2 separate regions of the Homo sapiens genome follow, and region 2 is linked to region 1. Evidence: promoter capture Hi-C in human tissues and cell types (Jung and others, 2019). All regions are on one chromosome and are shown on one strand. The core of a region is centred on a gene start or on the middle of the fragment in contact, and the rest is flanking DNA. Distances in the headings are between cores, read along the strand shown. Region 1 holds the start of FUBP3 (far upstream element binding protein 3). Region 2 overlaps ABL1 (ABL proto-oncogene 1, non-receptor tyrosine kinase).

Region 1 (3,169 bases), core at 399-2,898:
ATGTCTTCTCAATGGTTCAAAATTCACTTTATGTTCAACTACAGGCCTTCTGCAAACTGAGGATCTGAGCCCTTTAGGGCAGTGACTATAATTCTTCCCGGACATAGAAGGCCAACAAGGTGACTGTCACACATCAGCACAGAGCGAAAGCCATTACATATTAGTAGCCAGTGAGAAACAAGGTTCAGGACCCTGTACTGTAGAGGAGAGCACTGTAACACGCCAGCAAGCAGAGTGGTGGAAGGGGAGCTGGGTGGCATGTTCATCCATTACAGCCATGGGTGGATCTGAAGTCTAAGTAAGATGGATACTCACTACTGTACTGGTTGGCAGCTAGGCAGTAAAGTAACAATTCATCAGATAAAATTTTAGGTGGAACCACAGGTTTGGAAAGTTCTGGGATCCAATATAATGTCTATAGGAGCATCAATATATAACATGAAAAGTCAGTTATCAGGGAAACAGGTAGGGTTCCCTCCCCTGGAATACTGGAAAGAGATGTAAAGACCATATCTTCAAGCGCCCGAGTGAAGACCTTCTTCTAATACAATGACTCCTGTGGCTTTCTGTTAGGAATCAAGCAGTAATTAGTTATAGCCCAACTTTTAAAGTATCAGTGCGCTTACAATTACATAAGAAGAGAGGAGGACATAAGACACTTAACCGAGGAAGCTGAAGTGTTAGGGCTGACTTGTAAGTAAGTTTTAGATACAAATGAAGAACACGTTCTGTTCTAAGTACCATGCCAGAAGCCAGTAAGTATTTTTGGCAGGTCCCATATTCACTCTCTGGGGAAGCCTGGAGCCTTCTAAAACCCAGTTAATTTAACTTTGATTAAATGCACGACATTGTCAGACAGTAAAGTTTCAATGTCGGAATGAGGCCATATCATTCTCCCCAGTAGAGGCAAGCTTGCCATGAGAAATTTCTACATCTTGGGGACCACCCCCACACATGTAACACCTCCCTCTCTCACCTCTCCAAAGAGCACCCTCACATATAAGATGCCCTCGAGTTCCTTCTACTCAACAGAAAGTCTAAAGACGATGTTCCCCAAGTTTTAACAAGCTACTGGGCGTCAGACAGCTGCTTTATGTCTACACCCAGATCCTCCCCGTGGGCTTCCCGGACCCCTCCCCTCGCGAGGTTCAGAACCCCGCGCTAGCTACACTGTGGGTCCAGGCTGGCCGCTGGGGCACGATGGGGCCAGACGCTCTAAGCAAACCCTTTCCCAGCGACTTCAGGCACCTGGGAGACCCGCCCGACAGGCCGGGCCTGGGCCTCGCAGTGGCGCCTTATCCCCCCGGCTCCTCCCGGCTGTAGGAACTCCACGGAACGGCCCGGCCCGGCTGAGACGTCGGTTCAGGCTGCCTCCCGCCCCCCAGGCCCGAACCCCTCTTCCCCGCCCGCCAGGCCCCGCCTCGGGATCTCGTGCTCCTGCCAGCCGGCTGCGCCCGTACCTGCCGGACCCGGTGCAGGGCATCCACGAAGCCCTCGGCCTTCATCCCCACAGGAGCGCTCTGCCCCTGCACCAGCTCCGCCATTACCGCCCCCGCCGCCGTCGCCGCCGCCGCCGACGCCGCCGACGCCGCCGCTCGGCTCCCCGGTCCGGCCTCCCGCTCCGCTTGGGGACCCGTAGCCGGAAAAGGAAAGTCGCCCTACTTCCGGCGGAAGGGAAAGCCGGGACGCTCGCAGCTGGAGGAGTCGCGTCTGCGGGGCGGGGTCAGGGCACGTGACCTTCGACCGATCGGAAGTGGGGGCGGGACGGCAGCGCCGGGGTGGGCTCAGATCGCCAGGCAGCCGTGGGTCTCCAGGGTCCGGTCGCGACCCTTCCCTTCCCGGGCGGGATTTGGTCCAGGACCGTCGATGGCGTCTTGACAGGTCCCCGAGGCTTGGATGTGGTCCCGAGGTGTCCGCTGTCGGCCGTTTGGAATCTCAGAGGGACTGACGTGGCTCTCCCAAGACGGCACCCCGAACAGTCGTGGTTCATCAAAAGCCTGGTCCTGGGTAGCCCCTCCCTGAAATGGCTGTTGGTTGGGAATTTGGGGGCTGAGCGCTTTGAAAGGGCATTGGGACAGCATCACAGAATGTCAGTGTCCCACATTTGCGAGGAGTCCCGGGCCCCAGTTCTTACACTGCAGTTTGCATGAGGATGGGCCACCGCCACTTCCGCCTGGGGTTGTCTGGTGATGCCCCCAGGAGAGACGCGCCCACTGAAAAGCCAGCGTGGTGTCCTCTTACACGGTCCTTAACAAACTCTGGGACTCTGGGGGTGCAGGAAATACCACAGGACCGTCATTACTCCCATACCGGCTGAGTCACAACTGTATTGCAGGAGGCTTCTTGGAACGCCTATGTAACTTTAATGGAAGTGACCAGGTACAGATCTTCTACAGCAAGGAAGGAATCTTAGTGCTAGAATTCAGTTGAGCCTTTGAGTTGGCTCTTCTTATAAGTGAGCAAACAAGTAACAAGGTTTAGGGGGCGCCCATTTTTGTGTTAGCACGATTGCCCTCGTGTTTAATATTTCCCAAGCCCTATTATGATAAGGAGTTGGACTTAATGAAGAACCATGTTGTCAAACATCTTATGCCCATCTTGAAGTTGTGAAGGAGGATGAGCACCAAGAAAAGGAAATAAATAAAATCCAATACGGGCCGGGTGCGGTAGCTCACGCCTGTAATCTTAGCAGTTTGGGAGGCCAAGGCAGGCAGAACTCTTGAGCCCAGAAATTCAAGACCAGCCTAGGCAGCATAGTGAGACCCCGTCTCTACAAAAAATATAATTAGCTGGGCGTGGTGGCAAACACCTGTAGTCCCAGCTACTTGGGAGGCTGGAGTGGGAGGATCACCTGAGCCCTGGAGGTCAAGGCTGCAGTGAGCTATGATCACGCCACTGCAGTACAGCGTGGGTGACAGAGCAAGACCCTTTCTTGGGGAAAAAAGTCCCATATAACTTTCCTTGATGACCCCACCCTCACCCCTCACTGTGTCATTATGCCAAGAGAGCTTTGGGCATTCTAAAGAAGTATGAGGAATACTTGACCAATAACCAAAGTATAGTTATTTATTTGTTAATGACTTCTTTCCTAGACTGTGAGTTACTTTAGAGCAGAGACTTATTTTTCCCTGTATCCCTAGGGTGTGGCACATAGTAGGTGCTTAGTAAA
Region 2 (3,246 bases), core at 543-3,042, 270 kb before region 1:
TTGCAGGGAGCCGAGATCACGCCACTATACTCCAGCCTGGGTGACAGAGCGAGACTCTCTCAAAAAAACAAACAAACAAACAAACAAACAAAAACAAACAAAAAACAACAACGTGATCCCCACCCCCATTTAGTGTACATTGGTTTGGTAGTCTTGACTGTAGGGCCAAAGACTGTCCTTTGAAATGTAGGTATGTGGGGCTGGGTGCGGTGGCTCATGCCTGTTATCCCAGCACTTTGGGAGGCCGAGGCAGGCAGATCACCTGAGGTCAGGAGTTTAAGACCATGCTGGCCAACATAGCGAAACCCCGTCTCTACTAAAAATATAAAAATTAGTTGGGCGTGGTGGTGCACACCTGTAGCCCCAACTACTCAGGATGCTGAGGCACGAGAATCGCTTGAACACAGGAGGCAGAGGTTGTAGTAAGCTGAGATCATGCCACTGCACTCCAGCCTGGGCAACAGAGTGAGACTCCATTTCAAAAAATAAGTAAACAAAACGAAATGTGGACATGTGATTAGAGCTTGATGTTTTCTTCTGTAAGTCCTCCCTATAATGAATATATCATCTCACTTCCAGCTTCAATTTCCTACAGATGGAGGGAGAACTTAGAGCCATTCACTACGCATTCCCACTGTCAAAGCTTTCTAGATTTCTGTAATTCATTCCAATCATTTACTGTTGTCTTACACCTAATTCTGTAGTAATTTGTTAAATTTATCTTCCTTTACTGAGTCTTTCTAAAGCATTCATCTTAATTTTCCTAGAAACAATTCTCTTTTCACACTTGCATTTCATTGGTTTCATATCAACCAAGTAATTACAACAACAGCTATATCTGAAAGAACCAGGCTTGGAAACAAACATGACTGGCTCTTGTGGACAGGAACATATGCAGCAGCAGACAGTGGTAGTGTGGCTACCCCATCCCATGTGCCATGGGGCACAGGGACTATGGAGGCATGTTTTATAAGGAAGTGAAGAGTGCCGGTCAATTTAGCAAGTCAGTCAAGTGGAAGCCAGTTACGAGCTTCCACTGTCATTATATTAGAAAAACTGTGAGGCAGAGCATTCTTGACACACAAGGACTTTACATACCAACAAGAAAAAGAAAAATCCCTCCACTATGGAAAAAATGGGGCAAAGCCACGAATAAACAATTCACAAAAAATTTACATTATCATTAAAGGCCAGGTGCGGTGGCTCACACCTGTAATCCCACCACTTCGGGAGGCCAAGGCGGGCAATCACTTGAGGTCAGGAGTTTGAGACTAACCTGGCCAATATGGTGAAACCCCGTCTCTACTAAAAATACACAAATTAGCCGGGCATGGTGGCGCATGCCTGTAATCCAAGCTGCTAAGGAGTTGAGGCAGGAGAATCACCTGAACCTGGGAGGCAGAGGTTGCAGTGAGCCAAGGTCGCGGCACTGCACTCTGCCTGGGCAACAGAGTGAGACATCGTCTCAAAAAAAAACAAAAAAAATTACCATTAAACATGGAAAGTGTGTGAACGCTTGATAATAATCACTGAAATGCAAATTCCTTGCCAAATCTGCAGATACATCTTTTTGACGCTGACAGCCAGTGTGGGTAAGATTTCAGAGAAACGGGCACTCTCATACAATGCTAGTAGTAGGTGTATAAATTGAGGGCAACTGGAATATGAACCAGAAGTCTATAAAGAATTTAATATCTGATTTACCTCTAGGAATTTATCCTAAGTGATCAACACAATTATTTCTATACACTAATTTTAAACAACAGCACAGAAAAGGGCAAGTACAAAATATCTATCAACACAGGATAAGTTAGTTTATGCTGCATGCATAAAATAGGATATATTTTAAAAGCCACTCAAAATATTTTTGGAAAAAATATTTAAGTTTGAGAATATACTCGCAATAATATATTAAGTGTTTATATTACATTCCAGTATATAGGCATGGTCCCAACTATGAAAAAATAGAAGACGAGGAGGAATTTCACCAAACTGTGAACAGTAGTTAACTCAGGGTGGTGGGATTTTAAGTGCTTTAAATTTACTTTTCTTTTTTTTTTTTCTCGAGACGGAGTCTCGTTCTTGACACTCAGGCTGGAGTGCAATGGCGTGATCTCTGCTCACTGCAACCTTCACCTTCCGGGTTCAAGCAATTCTCCTGCCTCAGCCTCCTGAGTAGCTGGGATTACAGGTGCCCGCCACCACACTCGGCTACTTTTTTTGTATTTTTAGTAGAGATGGGGTTTCACCATGTTGGCCAGGCTGGTTTCGAACTCCTGACCTCAGGTGATAAGCCTGCCTCAGCCTCCCAAAGTGCTGGGATTATCGGCGTGAGCCACCGTGTCTGGCCTTACATTTTCTTTATACTTCTCTATATTATGGTATATTTCTCACAAAAAATGTGGATTGTTGTTATTACTAGAAAACAATGACAAACATAAAAAAGCTTTAATAGAAGCCAATTGAAATTTTTTTTTTTTTTTTTTTGAGTTGGAGTCTCACTCCATCGCCCAGGCTGAAGTGCAGTGGTGCGATCTAGGCTCACTGCAACCTCCAGCTCCCAGGTTCACGTGATTCTCCTGCCTCAGCCTCCTGAGTAGCTGGGATTACAGATGTGAGCCACTGCGCCTGGCTAAGTTTTTTTTTTTTTTTTTTTTTTCATTTTCAGTAGAGACGGGGTTTTGCCATGTTGGCCAGGCTGGTCTTGAACTCCTGGTCTCAAGTGATCTACTCACCTCAGCCTCCCAAAGTGCTGGGATTACAGGCAGGAGCCACCGCGCCTGGCCCTAAACTTACATAATTGATAATTTAACATGAAAAAGCATGCTGGGGAGGGAGGCTTCCTTCAGGCTGTCCTGAAAAGGCACTTGAGTGCCTCCCTCTGGTGCGTCAACCTCGTGGCCATGAGCATACAACTTTGGCAGACCAGGCCCACACAGGAAATTAAACCAAAGTCATGAATACAGAAATGCTTTTCTTCTCAAATGCCATTTGACCTCTTCTATCAAACATTCTGCCGCATCTGGATTTGATCAAAGTTACATAATCGGGGAAGTGGCCTGGAAAACACCTGGAATAAGCAGAATGCAGATCCCCGCCCAGAGGTGGCCATCCACTTGAAGTGTGGGTTAAAGTGGGATGGTCCCGAACATGTCGACAGATGCTGGGAATGTTATGCAAGAGGATGAGGCCTTTGTTAGGAAGGAAAGGGCCTCCCACTGCTTTTTGATTCAACAGGACGTCAGG

Evidence for each region. The method cuts DNA at HindIII sites, captures the fragments that hold promoters and counts their contacts. A contact is called where the count stands out against the background at its distance.
Region 2: a fragment that was not itself captured here is called in contact with the fragment with the promoter of FUBP3 in region 1 in 2 of the 25 tissues and cell types used here (bladder and hippocampus).

The regions. Positions count from the first base shown.
Region 1 is chr9:130,578,056-130,581,224 of GRCh38, reverse strand. FUBP3 (far upstream element binding protein 3) reads right to left here and starts at 1,648. Exons shown (of 19, transcript NM_003934.2): 1 at 1,461-1,648. The coding sequence starts at 1,544. It overlaps LOC100272217 (a long non-coding RNA gene), which reads left to right and starts at 1,731. Exons shown (of 1, transcript NR_027440.1): 1 at 1,731-3,169. It overlaps LOC124902286 (a long non-coding RNA gene), which reads right to left and starts at 1,385. Exons shown (of 2, transcript XR_007061818.1): 1 at 977-1,385; 2 at 1-566. RefSeq lists a silencer at 1,331-1,700. The HindIII fragment of the contact is 10,079 bases long and covers 197-3,169 here.
Region 2 is chr9:130,847,759-130,851,004 of GRCh38, reverse strand. All of the region lies in intron 1 of ABL1 (ABL proto-oncogene 1, non-receptor tyrosine kinase), which reads right to left. Among named protein-coding and RNA genes, the nearest start is that of ABL1, 14 kb to the right of the region's middle. RefSeq lists a silencer at 3,049-3,246 and an enhancer at 2,935-3,246. The HindIII fragment of the contact is 3,204 bases long and covers 191-3,246 here.